Linked DNA regions of Homo sapiens: all the other regions are linked to region 1. Evidence: promoter capture Hi-C in human tissues and cell types (Jung and others, 2019). All regions are on one chromosome and are shown on one strand. Each heading gives the region's core, a stretch centred on a gene start or on the middle of the fragment in contact. The rest is flanking DNA. Distances are from core to core; before and after follow the strand shown.

The links. Contacts are between HindIII fragments. The study calls those that stand out against the background at their distance.
Region 2: a fragment that was not itself captured here is called in contact with the fragment with the promoter of LDLRAD2 in region 1 in 2 of the 25 tissues and cell types used here (H1 embryonic stem cells and aorta).
Region 3: a contact is called between a fragment that was not itself captured here and the fragment with the promoter of LDLRAD2 in region 1, in 2 of the 25 tissues and cell types used here (bladder and pancreas).

What each region holds. Positions count from the first base shown.
Region 1 is chr1:21,810,252-21,815,292 of GRCh38, forward strand. It overlaps LDLRAD2 (low density lipoprotein receptor class A domain containing 2), which reads left to right and starts at 2,014. Exons shown (of 5, transcript NM_001013693.3): 1 at 2,014-2,285; 2 at 4,147-4,572. The coding sequence starts at 2,201. RefSeq lists silencers at 500-650, 4,379-4,498 and an enhancer at 1,805-2,099. The HindIII fragment of the contact is 35,123 bases long and covers 655-5,041 here.
Region 2 is chr1:21,723,853-21,728,678 of GRCh38, forward strand. USP48 (ubiquitin specific peptidase 48) reads right to left here. Exons shown (of 27, transcript NM_032236.8): 11 at 4,718-4,826; 12 at 46-243. Among named protein-coding and RNA genes, the nearest start is that of USP48, 57 kb to the right of the region's middle. The HindIII fragment of the contact is 3,775 bases long and covers 1,083-4,826 here.
Region 3 is chr1:21,685,868-21,690,520 of GRCh38, forward strand. It overlaps USP48 (ubiquitin specific peptidase 48), which reads right to left. Exons shown (of 27, transcript NM_032236.8): 24 at 4,107-4,232; 25 at 1,324-1,372. Among named protein-coding and RNA genes, the nearest start is that of RAP1GAP, 19 kb to the left of the region's middle. The HindIII fragment of the contact is 3,818 bases long and covers 817-4,634 here.

The sequences.
Region 1 (5,041 bases), core at 764-3,263:
AAGATTGCGCCACTGCACTGCAGCCTGGGCGACAGAGCAAGACTCAGTCTCAAAACAAAAACAAAAACAAAAACAAAACAAAACAAAAACCATATAATCCCATGCAGGTGATGAGTTCTGAAGTTTAAGCTTCAGTGGGCTTCATGATAAATTCATTCTTGCTGAGGGAAGATTTGAGTCTTTTTGGAGTTCCCCAAGGTACAGATTTGGACATCATACACTGTAGGAAATCAAGGTTGCATCAAATGACCGCTCCAGGAGGGAGAGCTGTTAGGGAATAATAGGTCCAGAGGTGTTTGTTTTGGGTTTTTTTTTTTTTTTATTTTATCGCCCAGGTTGGAGTGCAGTGGTGCAATCTCGGCTCACTGCAATCTCCGCCTCCCGGGTTCAAGCGATTATTGTGCCTCAGCCTCTGTGCCACAACGCCCGGCTAATATTTGTATTTATAGTAGAGATGGGGTTTCACCATGCTGGCCAGGCTGCTCTCGAATTCCCAACCTCAGGTGATCGCCTGCCTTGGCCTCCCAACGTGATGGGATTACAGGTGTGAGCCACTGTGCCCGGCCAGGTCCAGAGGTCTTAACCTTCTCATGGATTCCTGGGATTTTGAGGTGGTGTCTCAGGCACTGCCAATTTGGGCTGCTTAGCTCCTCCCCTCCCCCACACTTGAAACATCTGCTTAAATAATAACGATGACATTAATGATCATCATTCAAGCTGAAATACATTGGTTACTTTACTACATGATAGACACTATTCCAAGTACCCCACTTGTATTAAGTTACTTAATTCTTTTTTTTTTTTTTTTTTTGAGATGAAGTCTCACTCTGTTGCTCAAGCTGGAGTGCAGTGGCACAATCTCAGCTCACTGCAACCTCCACCTCCCGGATTCAAGCGATTCTCCTGCCTCAGCCTCCTGAGTAGCTGGGACTACAGGAATGCACCACCATGCCCGGCTAATTTTTTTTGTATTTTTAGTAGAGATGGGGTTTCACTATGTTGGCCAGGCTGGCCTTGAACTCCTGACCTTGTGATCCACCCACCTCTGCCTCCCAAAGTGCTGGGATTACAGGCATGAGCCACCAAGCCAGGCCAAGTTACTTAATTCTTACAATGCAACTATGTGGTTGGAATTAATCATTATCCCATTTTCCAGAGAAGGATGCCAGGGCTTGAAAAGCTTCAGTTTTATAGATAAAGGTTCCTTGTAACATACCTTTTGAAAAAAAATTGTTCTACTAATAACACGTTTTGAAAAAGTCTGAATTAGTCCAGGGTATTTATTTTACACATGGGAAAGTAAAATCCAGAAAAAGGGGTCATTTGTTCAATGCCACACACTTATTCTTTCATTATTTCCTGGGCGCCTGCCTTGTGCCAGTGACTGTGCTATGACATAAGGGTTCAGAGGTAAACAAGATACTCATGGAATATAATTTTAGTGGAGGCCAGTGGACAATATATACAAGAAGAAATGAATAGGCAAAATAATTCCAGACAGTGCTGGGATGATACATTTGAGATGTGATTGAGTGACAAAGAGAGAGAGTGTTAATTTAGTTGGAGAGGTGGTCAGGAGAGTGTGGTCTGTGGAGGTAACATGTGAGCCACAACCTGATGACCTGAAGAAGTCAGCCGTGCACTGCTATGGGGGGACAACACTCCAGACAGAGGGATCTATGAGTGCAAAGGCCCTGAGGCAGGAATGGCTTGTTAGTAATACAGCAGACTCCTGGTCCAGTGCTCCTTCTCTGCCTGCTGCTCTCTAGGCCCTCAGAGAGGCTCCTTTGGTGTCCTGGACCTCCCTCAAGCTCAGTCCCTAAGGGGCCAGCTGATCTAGGAAGGTAGCAGATCTGGCTTCCTGTGGGTCCTCCTCCCAGAAGCCCTATGGCTGAACCGGATCTGAGTTTCCTGGTTCCTGTCTGGCAGAAGGGGAGCAGATCTCCTCCCTGCCTCCTCTCCCCAGGCTCTAGCCCTTGCTCCAAATCTCCATGGCAACCCCTGGACACAGTTCTGAACCAAATGAAGAGGATCTGGAAGGCAAAGCACTAAGATCATAGTGAAGACTTGCCTCCCCCTTCTCCTTGTGTCCCACCAGCCTCCCTGCTGGCCTGACCAGGCCCCATACTCCAGTCTCCCCAGAGACCCCAAGCTGAAGATTCTGTGGGTCTGCCCCATTGCTGGGCACAGCAGAGCCTGGATGGAGGCTTGTTGTCTTCTGCAGTTGCCCCAAAGGTTGCTCTTGCTGGGGGCAGCCGCCCTGACTGCAACTGCTTTGGAGACAGGTAAGTATCAGGGGGCTTGGTTGGGGCACCCAGAAGACTTGGGCCCCCACCATCCTTAGAGACTATGTTTCCCCAGTCAGCACTCATCCTGCTGGGCTGAGACCTTTTGAGCTGGGGGAGGCTGGGAAACTGTGTCTGGTCTTGCTTGGCATCCCCAAATCCAACCCAAAGCCTTCTGGAAGGCTTGGATCTGCCAGTCACCTAGAAGCAGGAGTCTGGGAGTGGGCAGGACAGCCCTCAGGGCCTGCTTTGCAAAACTCTGTAGGCTTCGGATTCAGAGAAGCTGCATTTACACACTCTGCCACTTCTTATGTTTGTACCTTTGAGATCATTGTTTCAACTCTCTGAATTTCTTTGGCAGTAAAATGAAAATAATAGGCCCTTGCCCCTTAAGGGACTATGATTATTGGCATATAAGATGAGATAAGTCATGCAAGGCACTTCATAATACCTGGCACATAAAAGGTGCCAAATTCCCGGCTGGGCGCAGTGGCTCACGCCTGTAATCCCAGCACTCTGTGATGCCGAGGCGGGCGGATCATGAGGTCACGAGATCAAGACCATCCTGGCCAACATGGTGAAACCACATCTCTACTAAAAATACAAAAATTAGCTGGGCATGGTGGCATGTGCCTGTAATCCCAGCTACTTGGGAGGCTGAGGCAGGAGAATCGCTTGAACCAGGGAGTCGGAGGCTGCAGTGAGCCGAGATTGCGCCACTGCACTCCAGCCTGGCAACAGAGAGAGACTCCGTCTCAAAGAAATAAAAAAAAAAAAGGGTGCCCAATTCCCTTACTCTCTAAACTCCATGCCTGCCCTGTGTACCTTCAGGGTAGGCTCTGGCTTTAGCAGAGAAATACCAAATATTGGAAAGTGCTCCCACATCCTGAGCTCTGATGAAGGATTTTTTCCTCAAAGACCCACATCCTGGCTGGTCCTCAAGTACCCACTGGTCCCTATCTTGCACCAGAAAACCCACCTCCTCTTTCCTCTCTGTGCTTACAGAAATCAGGGCTACTTTGAGTACTTGCACATCTTCTCATTTAATCCTCACAACAACCCTGTACCAGTGAGGATGTTTTGGGCTGTAAGTAACAGATAACAAACTAAATGGGGCTTAAATGGTAGGATATTTGCTATTTCAGTTAAGAGTGGTCATAGGTGATTCCAGAGATGGTTAACTCAACGGCTCAACAATGTCACTGTTCCTCTGAAATGCTCTGACCTCATCTTTGCAAAATGGCTGCTGCAGCTCTGGACATCCCATCCTCATCCTCAGTCAGCAGCTTTCAAAAGCAGGAAGAAAAGGGGCTCCTTATCACACAGCTCTCCCCCTCCCCTTTTTTTTTTTTGGTGACGGAGTCTCGCTGTGTTACCCAGGCTGGAGTGCAGTGGCTTGATCTCAGCTCACTGCAACCTCCGCCTCCAGAGTTCACGCGATTCTCATCCTCAGCCTCTCGATTAGTTGGGATTACAGGTGCGCACCACCATGCCCGGCTAATTTTTTGTATTTTAGTAGAGATGGGGTTTCACCATGTTGGCCAGGCTGGTCTCGAACTCCTGACCTCAGGTGATCCACCTGCCTTGGCCTCCAAAGTGCTGGGATTACAGGCGTGAGCCACTGCGCTCGGCCCCGCATCTTAGGGTTTCGAATAAGGGATTGTAGATTTGAATTAAATTAAATTAAATCATTTAATCCTTACAATCATTCTGAGATTGATTAATCATCCCCATTTTACCGATGAGGAAAATGAGGCTCAGAGAGGGCGAGTAACTCGCTTGGGATCACACAGCGGGCAGGGGACAGAGTAGAGTTCGGGGTCGCGCCGCGCGGCTCCAGTTTCCGTGCCTTCCGCTGCAGCCGACCTGGCGGAACTGTGCGGGCAGACGTGGCAGGGGGACGGGCTGCTGCTGCGCTCGCACGCCGCATCGCGCAGGTTCTACTTCGTGGCTCCGGACACCGACTGCGGGCTCTGGGTGCAGGCGGCAGCCCCCGGCGACCGGATCCGCTTCCAGTTCCGCTTCTTCCTGGTCTACAGCCTGACCCCCGCGCCCCCGGCGCTCAACACCTCCTCCCCGGCCCCGGCCGACCCGTGCGCCCCCGGCTCCTACCTGCAGTTCTACGAGGGCCCGCCGGGGGCGCCCCGGCCCCTGGGGTCCCCACTGTGCGGCCTGAACATCCCGGTGCCTGTGGCATCCTCCGGACCCTTTCTAGGCCTGCGCCTGGTCACGAGAGGCCGCCAGCCCCGCGTGGACTTCGTGGGCGAAGTCACCTCTTTCCGTCTGGGTGAGCTGGGGCTGAAGGCCGGGACGGGACCCTCTGCAGAGGCCATGCGGGACTGGGGCCACAGTGGGGGCCCCGGTGAGGGCCGCTGCCGACAGGGGAATGGCAGGGGTGCCCGAAGCACAAGATGGCAGGGACTGGGTCCAACGGGAGGGAAGAAGGTGGTGGCTAGTGGCAGAGTCACAATAAGGGACCTCCCGGATCCTAAGAGCCAACCATATAAATCTGGCTACCATGGATGTGTGCGTCAGACTGTCCTACCAGCCCCAGTGCGCACACACATCCACACACATCCACACACAACTTCCTCCCCACACACATTCACACACAACTCCCACACGTTCACACCTCACACTCTGACATCCACACCCATGTCACATACGCACAACCCACGCACCTCATCGCCCCCACACACTCCACACTCATGCCTCTCACTGCAGCACACGCCTCACACTGCACACTCACCATCACA
Region 2 (4,826 bases), core at 1,720-4,219, 85 kb before region 1:
TTAATGAGCTGCTCTTTTTTAAACAGAGAGGACATCTTGAATTACCAGTTAGTCTTGGACCTCCTCCATATCTACTATAGAAAATGTCAGCTGCATATTCAGATATCCTCTTCATAATTGATATTTTATCCGGGTGAAGCTTGTCATGGGAACACAGGCAAGCGTGATTATCAATAGGTTTGGTAGGTGTTGATTCATCCAACCACTTTTGCAGCCATTCCAGAGAGACAAACTCATAGGGCTCTGAGAAAGCAAGCATCGGAAAGAGCCTATGTATTTTTACAGTTTTTTGACTAAGTGATACATTCATTTTTCTCAAAAGACAATGCAAACTCTGTCCAGAGTTAGCAGAATCAGAAGAATCATTGTCTGGGGGAAGATGTTTGATGAGTACGACACAAAGCTCCAGTTAAGTGCCACTCCTATGAGTTCAAGGAGCTGTGCACCATAATGCTGAGTCTGCACAGTGCCCTATGAGATCGGCTGGTATTATTAACCACATTCTACAAGAGGCATCCACATAGAGTCTTGCCGAATAGCACAGCAGAGCTTTGATCAGGACACCCATGTTTGTTGACTACAAGTCATGCTCCATTGCTGCCTCACAAATAACACAACCTCATGCCCTACTGTGTTTATTTCATAAATTATTTTTGTCAGTACTTTTCACATATATGTGATATACATCTGAAAATTAAAATGAGAAGCCAAACTGAAATAAACCTCACCGACTATGACCACACTTCAGAAGACGCTTTTAACCACTGAACTTTCTTCATCCAAGATGATACTGATGGCAATTTTGAAAAGGTATTTAATTCCCCCACCCAAATCCAAGTCATGATCTCTTCATTATATTATTATTTATTTCAAGAAAGTAACCTATTTTAAACAAGTTCGAGGATAAAGTACACTAGAACTGAGTCATCAATTTTGAAGTTGCAAAAATTAAAAGACAAAACCAAACACCTCAAAATGAGTTTTAATTTGGGGAAAGGAAGTCCCTAGAATTCCCTAAAAGCCAAAATCAAAGATAAAGGGCCAGCTTTGATTACTTACAAAGATCTCCAGTGAGTCCCAGCATAAAACATAGAAGAAAACATACAGAGGTTGAATTTATATTTTTGTATTATATACTCCTTCTGATGAGATCTGAGGGACAGATACTTCAACGCAAAGCCCATTGTGACCAGTTTTATACTCCCCAGAGAGTTACATGTCTAGAAAACTAACTCCCATTTTAATTTTACAGTAAACCATCTCAATTTTTATGAAAACAAAATTTGGCACTGTACATCATCAACTAAGAGCCTTCTAACTGGTCAAGTCGAATGTGGCTCCAGAGGAAGAGCACAGGACTGTGAGTCGAGGTCACGGTCTAATCCAAGTTCTGCTACCAAGAAAATGAACCTGAACAAGTCACTTAAACTTTCTATGTTTCCAGTCTTTTATTTGTAAAATGAAGGTAATAATACCTGCCTTCTACCTACCTCATGGGAATGTTGTTGAGTATAAAAGATAAGCTATGTGAAGCATTTTGAGCTTTTTGGAAGAAAAGAGATATGGAAAAGTTAATTATACATTTACGTAAACTTAATATATAAAAGAGGAGACCTTGGCTGGGCATGGTGGCTCACGCCTGTAATCCTAGCACTTTGGGAGGCCGAGGCGGGCAGATCACCTGAGGTCCAGAGTTTGAGACCAGCCTGACCAACAGGGAGAAACCCCGTCTGTACTAAAAATACAAAAAATTAGCTGGGCATGGCGGCACACGACTGTAATACCAGCTATTCGGGAGGCTGAGGCAGGAGAATCACTTGAACCCGGGACGCGGAGGTTGTGGTGAGCTGACATTGCACCAGTGCGCTCTAGCCTGGGCAACAAGAGTGAAATTCCATCTCAAAAAAAAAAAAGAGGAGACTTTAAGATGCAGTATATGTAACACAGCTGCAGCACTTTACAGTATATCATGGTATGGCTAATTACATTCAAAATGCCTCCCGACTTTATTTGCCATTTATCAAGCTTAATCTGCCAGGGATAGAGTACACTGGGTATCTGGGGAATGCAAAGATAAATGATCCCTTTCTGAAAGCAAGATCAAAGTCTTAGCATACTCTCATCTTTTCCCAAGGACAGTCAATTAGATTAAAATGGTAAGCAATATGAAGGCTATCAAAGGAGAAAAAACAGGATTGTGATAAAGAGCAACATTCAAGAATAAGTCACTAGGCATCCTAGTTTCCCCAGCAGCTGGGGAGGAGTGGACAGACAGCAGTATCTGTTATTGCTAACTGAAAGAAAACACCCTAAGAATCCTGGCCCTCACAATGAAAGGAATCTAGGAAAGCTCAAAATGCACAAAGCCCTCCTTGCCAGGGGATGTCTGCAGGAATTCAAAGCCTAGGGTGACTGTGGCCCTGACTGTCCAGCAACAATGTGGCTCAAAGGCAAGACAACATTTTCCAATCTCACAGAAAACTTCCAAGGAAAGCTTGTTGTTTTGGTTTTTGAATTGTTCAATATAAATTTAATGTAAGATACAATGATTAGAAAAACTATGTACGGTTTTATAGTAAGAGGAGGAAGACAGAAAGCAGAGAACAGGCCTATAATTCTAATCTAATACCATGCTTACTACTAACAGCAAGTTCTCCAGATTTCACTTTAGTGCGCTGTGGGCTCCATGAAGGAAGAGTGACTATGGTCACAGAAGTCTGTCTTTCTTTCCATTTTCAGTCTCTATCATCATAAAGAGTTGCACTGACTCTGCCAAGAGCTTGCCTGAGAATACAAGTGGAGCACAAGTCTCATAGTTAAGGCAGATTCTGTTTGTGGCAAAGTTTTTACACTACAGATGTTTCTGCACTAGAAAAAGACTCTAAGTAGGCCCCTCAAATATATTCCCTAGTATTTGTGATTCAGTAAACTACAAGCATTGCTTTCCAAAGGCCATGGACATAATCAACTCCAAATGAGGGAGAACTCTCCTATTATCAAGCTGGAGATACCGGACTATATGAAACCTCAGCATTTGATGAGGAAAGCAAAATATTAAAATATTTACCACAGGGAAATATACATTTTGGTTCAAAGTTCTTTAAAAAGAAAAAAAAAAACCTGGATTTTGAACATGACACATTTTCTTTGGAAAGTTATAAAGTCTAGAACAATCACAGCATCAAAAACATCTGAAACACTTTACCTAGAGATAATTTAAGTATATTTCAATGGAAATAAAAAGGGCCAAAAGCACGTTCCTACTGAGGCTTAGATTTTAGGGTAAGTGATCTTTGTTTTTTTAAATATGTTCACACACAAAAATAAGATTTAGAAAATGCATAACAAAAGACTTCTCTTGCCAGCACAAAACCATGCTCATTAACTTTGAGATTCTACATAATTTTACAGCGTGGACTGTCTACAATATAAGTTTACTGCAAATGGAAAAGAATTATATAGCTCATAATTGGTAAAAGTATAAATAACACAGAGAAATACTCTAAGAACATAAGCATATTCTAAGAACATAAGGTTCCTATATGCTGAATGAAAACAGCCAAAGGAAGCACAGTGCTAACTTGACACATAACATCTTTGAACTCTATAGTTCTAAAGAGTGGTTCAAATGAGTATTTCACTTTAGACCCAGTTAAGTCCCTTTCTCTTGCCCAGTGGACACAGGAAACCGTGAATAAAGTTTGGAAAATAGATTTCTAGGTCCCAACACCTTTGAACAAAGACCTATAAATTTAGAGATCTGAATCATGGGTTCATTTCCAAATCATTTCCAGTTACATTAAGGTCAGTTTAATTATTTAGGGTAATCCCAACCCTTGGACAGAGTTAAAGTAACAGATTACAAAGAAGGGTCAGAATTGAATTAAAATTTAGTTAAAATATATTCTTATAGACTTGGCAATTTTTGTTTACATTTTGCTTAAAGTTATACTAGTAATGGAAAATTAAGATATTAAAAAGACAAACCACAAGTACAATTATGCTTAAGTATTTATTTTCTAAAGTAAGGACTAAATTGTCTCTCTTCCTTAAGTAGGAATTAGGCTTGGGGAATTCATGTCTTTAAAATGACAAAGATAACTTAATACAAATGGCACATCAGCCTTTAAAAAGGCTTAATTTGGTTTCATTTTGAGACATCAGGTAAACCTGAATAAACATATACAGAAAAGGGATAAGCTGGATTATGTGGGATATTTCTAAGAAATCAGGGGTCAGCAGAAAGCTTTTCTACTCTTAGCATAATATTTGGTATTAAACTTCAAGTTAATCTAATAGTATCAAAAAAACTGTATTCATATAATAGAATGTCTGTTAAAACTGTTAGGTCACAAAGTATGCAAAGAAACAGAACAGGCAAGTTGCTTTTTCCATAGTAATCCAATCGGATTTTTCTTAAACAAGTTAATATCTCACAAAATATAAATATCTACAATACTCATGGATGCAGAGTGCTGACCTAAATGTTATAATTTATTAACAGCTTCCCATTTTTAGGAGTACAACGTAATGAAATAATATGGAATGCTACACATCAAGTTATTGTTGGTTTACAAAGTACTTTTAGAGTGTTTAAGCTGGCTTTAGTGGGTTATTAGAAAGAGTAAGTTTGAGAAAGTTTCTTCATATACATTTGTGAACATAAAAAAACAAGGCACTTAATGGCAACAGTGCTGTCCCAGAATATCTTACAGACCAGCTCCAGCAGGTAACCTTTGGTACAGCTCCTTAACCTCTTCGTGTTTTGCTTTTCCTTTATCCACACTTTGCTTACGCATCTCAGCCATTTCAATACACCACTCCTC
Region 3 (4,653 bases), core at 1,476-3,975, 120 kb before region 1:
GCATTTTGGGAGGCCCAGGTGGCCAGATCACAGGGGGCCAGGAGTTCGGGACCAGCCTGGCCAATATGGGAAATCCTCATCTCTAGTAAAAATACAAAAATTAGCTGGGTGTCATGGCACATGCCTGTAGTCCCAGCTACTCAGGAGTCTGAGGCACAAGAATTGCTTGAACCCAGGAGTGGTGGCTGCAGTGAGCTGAGATGGTGCCACTGCACTCCAGTCTGGGCAACAAAGACTCTAAAAAAAAAGCATGTCATCTGCAAAGAGGGACCATTTGACTTCCTCTTTTCCAATTTTGCATGCTTTTTACTTATTTATCTTGCCTAATTGCTCTTGCTAGGACTTCCAATACTATGTTGAATAAGAGTGGTGAAAATGGCCGTCCTTGTCTATTCCAGTTCTTAGAGGAAAGGCTTTAAGCTTTTCGCCATTAGGTATGATGTCAGCTGTGGGTCTCACATATGGCCTTTATTATATTGAGGTATGTTCCTTCTGTACTTGGTTTTTTGAGAGTTTTTACCACGAAGGGATGTTGAATTTTATCAAATGCTTTTTCTTTGTCTATTAAGATGATCATATGATTTTTGTCCTTCATTCTGCTGATGTGATGTATTGGTTTGCATATGTTGAACATCCTTGCATCCCTGGGAGAAATCTCACTTGATCATACAGAACCAGACTTTTTACATCCACTGGTTATTTTCTTGACTAGTTTCCCTGGAGAGAAATCCCTTCCCACCTGGGGGAGGGTAAGTAATGGGCTGCCCGAATTTGAGCAAAGGGCTAAGAGATGGTCTCCTATTTGGTATAGGCTTCGTTCCCACCTTTCTAGTTTAATTTTTCCAAGTGTGGAAACACATAATTCTGGGTGCCCATCTGAGGTCCAGGTGGAGATGGGGAAGTGACAAGGATGTGAAAGGTAGAGAGTTGTCTAACTGCTTCTTATACAGTTTTCCAAACAAGTATCATGTTATCTTCTTTTTAGGCTCACAATTCATTCCCACCTTCAGAGGTACCTAGGCCTCTAATTTGTGTGTGCCTGTCTGGGGCACTGCAATCTGACTTAGTTTTGCTTCTTGTTGACCTCCTCCACAGGCAGAGCTCACATTTATTTCAGTTTCCTCAGGTTAGCTTTCCAAGTTTTTGTAGATATCTTTCCCTCCTTTCTATGATCTTTTAAGATAATGTATTCTACTGTAACAATATGTGGAAGCTTTTTTCAAGGTTCAAAGTAAAAGCACTGTACACTAAAGCTTCAATATCTAAAATCCCACCTCCGTCTAAAACCTAATCAGCAGATTCCTAAAACAAATTCATCTTTACCTTGCATGACATCATCCATTGCAGCATAATCTGCAATTGGTTCATCAGCCTAGAAAACAAATGAAGACAATTCAAAACCACAAGGGAGAGGGAGTCTGAAATTTGAAGTATGGCCCATGATTCAACTACTGATATTGCTATAAGACACAAACACACTGTCCAGTAGATAACTCAGTTTCAGCCACAGCCAGCAGCGTCCAGGTTTAACAGCAGATGCCCTGCTGGCTATGGGTCTAGAGTCAACACTGCAGAAGTGGTATACTGTGTGTGTGAAGAGGAAAGGCAGGGGGGACTATTTTCCCATTCTTAAAGACACCTTTAGACATGGAAATGTTTAGACACCCTGGGGTTACTAAAGACTGATTAAACCAATGTGAGCTAAGATACTCGTAGTGGCAGTGAGGGGTACAAATAAAAAGTTATACTGGTCCTCTCAGAATACCAATTAGGTTAAAATTATACTTTTGTCCCACTTCACCAGCAAGAACAAGATACCCATTTCCTTTTTAGGAGGAAGCTTATGATGTCTGAGCTTATGATAAGGTTAGCTGCAAGGATAATGAAGCCAATGACCAGTACAGACTCTAGCTGCCCATGTGAAGTACAAACCGTTCAACAATACAGGCTGTTTTAGGACTTTAGACAGGATCATTAGGATCTAGCAACTCAATGTGTTTTCAAAACCATTTCACAGAACCTATACTTCCAGGAAATGCAGAATGTTAAACAGAGGGAGGGGTTAGGTGGTGGGATGAGGGGTGTGTGTGCATGGATGGGGTAGATATGGGTCTGCCTCATCATTCCAGGGCCTAACTTTATCACACCAGAACGGGGGCTCCAAGGTTTGAAAAGCATACATTTCACAGTTCAAAATAAAAAACCTGAACAATGATTCTACCACATGATGTGGTGGTATTCGGCACAGTAGGGATTCTTTTGGCCAAGAAGAAACAAAAGAGGCAATGGGAAGCGACTAAGTTAGGCCCTTAGGGAGGGTAGAATTGGGCAAATGAGGCTGGTTCAATGACTTTTCTTTCTTTCTTTTTGAGACGGAGTCTCCCTCTGTTGCCCAGGCTGGAGTGCAGTGGCGCAATCTCGGCTCACTGCAACTTCCACCTCCCGAGTTCACGCCATTCTCCTGTCTCAGCCTCCCGAGTAGCTGGGATCACAGGTGCCCACCACCACGCTTGGCCAATTTTCTTGTATATTTAGTAGAGATGGGGTTTCACCATGCTGGCCACGCTGGTCTTGAACTCCTGACCTCATGATCCACCCACCTCAACCTCCCAAAGTGTTAGGATTACAGGGGTGAGCCACTGCGCCCAGTGAAAGTAGGGGCTTCTAAGACACTGTCAAAGAAAAGTCACTGAGGCCTGGCGCAGTGGCTCACACCTGTAATCCCAGCACTTTGGGAGGTGAGGCGGGCAGATCACCTGAGGTCAGGAGTTTGAGACCAGCTTGGCCAACACGGTGAAACCCTGTCTCTACTAAAAATACAAAAAATTGGCCGGGTGTGGTGGCACACGCCTGTAATCCCAGATACTCGGGAGGCCGCGGCAGGAGAACTGCTTGAATCTGGGAGGTGGAGGTTGCAGTGAGCCGAGATTGTGCCACTGCACTCCAGCCTGGGCAACACAGCGAGACTCCATCTCAAAAAAAAAAAAAAAAAAAAGAAGAAGCCCCTACTTTCTACATCTACTAAATCCAAAACCAATTTCCATGCCTTGGACAGAATCCCATTAAGTCGTGTATTTTGACTGTTGTGACAGAACCTTGTGTTTTACCCTTGTTTCCTAGCTTGGCTGGCTAGTCCTTTTGAACCAAAAGGAAAAGAGGAGATACTTTAATACTATGACGTATGGTTAAGTAATTCTGCTGAACCGGAAGTTAGGGAAAAAGTTACAGAGGAGGCTGAATCTACTTTTAACTAAGAAAAACTATGAAAATCTCAGCAGAGATAGATTTTAAAGTATAAAATAAGTTACTATTTGCATTGGTCACAAGTCTATCTTCTACCCATTTTTTGCTTTTTTTTTTTGTGGGGGCAGCATTTCAAATTAAGTTGCAGACATCAGTATCATTAGTGTGGTTTTAAGAACAGATCCATCTAGTCCAAAAAAAGGAAAAAAAAAAAAGCGGGGGGCGGGGGGTTGGAGGGCATTGGGGAGGGGACACCACAGAAACTTTGTGACCTGAGACCAGATCACTCAGCTTGCCCCTTTGGAATGACAGTCAATCCTCAGTGCTCAGAGGGCCACAACCCAATATCACTCCCTTCCTCCCAGTCTGAGGGGAATGAAAACTAGATCTGTATCTGGAGAAGAATGGGGGCCCTTGTGACAGAAAATCAAATGGGAAAAATCAGGCGTGGAGCTTAGCAGTTGGGTGAGTGGGATTTATACCACTGCCCTGCCCTACCAGGGAACAGGAAAGTAATGATGTACCCTGATCCCACAAAGGCATAGAAACTGATCTAGGTGATCCAGGAAAGGCCAAGGAAAGCCTTCACTTTCACCTTCTCAGGGTACCAGCAGTTGCTGATGCTGTGGCGTAACATCACCTACTATAACACACAAGAACAAGATAGATGATGTCCTGACCTCCTCTAAGTCTCCTGGGGCTCAGCCAGAGTTGGGCTGAGCTGCAAAAACCCACAGCAGTCATTTATCACTACCCTCTGCTAAAGACCCAAGGCATCCTTTAACCACCATTTCACACAGTTTACACATAGTTATGTAACATGTAAAACCTTGAGTTCTTCAGCTAAGGAGCTGTTTACTTACCTTCAATAAAATGACAGATTCAGGAATGACGCCAAGGGTGCCTAGGGTGGCACAGTCATCACTTAAAATCTTTCCATCAATTGACAAATTCTGGTCAAAAGGAGCAACTGAAAATGCATGCATGATCTGTGCCAATATAAAAGAGAGAAAGTCCGTATAATGCAAAATACTAAGACTTATACCCTATTTAAATAAATTATGCATGGATTCTTAAAAAAAAAAAAAAGGCTTCAGAGTACAAAACCACTATTGTTTACAGTCAGCCTACTTGTTATACTCCTACTGAGGCTATCGTCCCTATATATCCGGGAACATCCTTAAGAGGTCTGGTAGAGTATTAGGAAACAATTACACATATAGATGCGTTTGTTCCTTACCTTACCAGCTTCCCAAGGATGGAGGTGTGGGGAAATAAAATGAATAAAAAGTGGGGCTGGGCTGATGGCTATTCTGAGGCTTGGGCAAGGTCATCACTGTCACCTCATCTTTCCCAGGCCCCATATCCTTTCATCAACAAGTCAAGTCCAAATTCTTTCTTTTTTCTTTT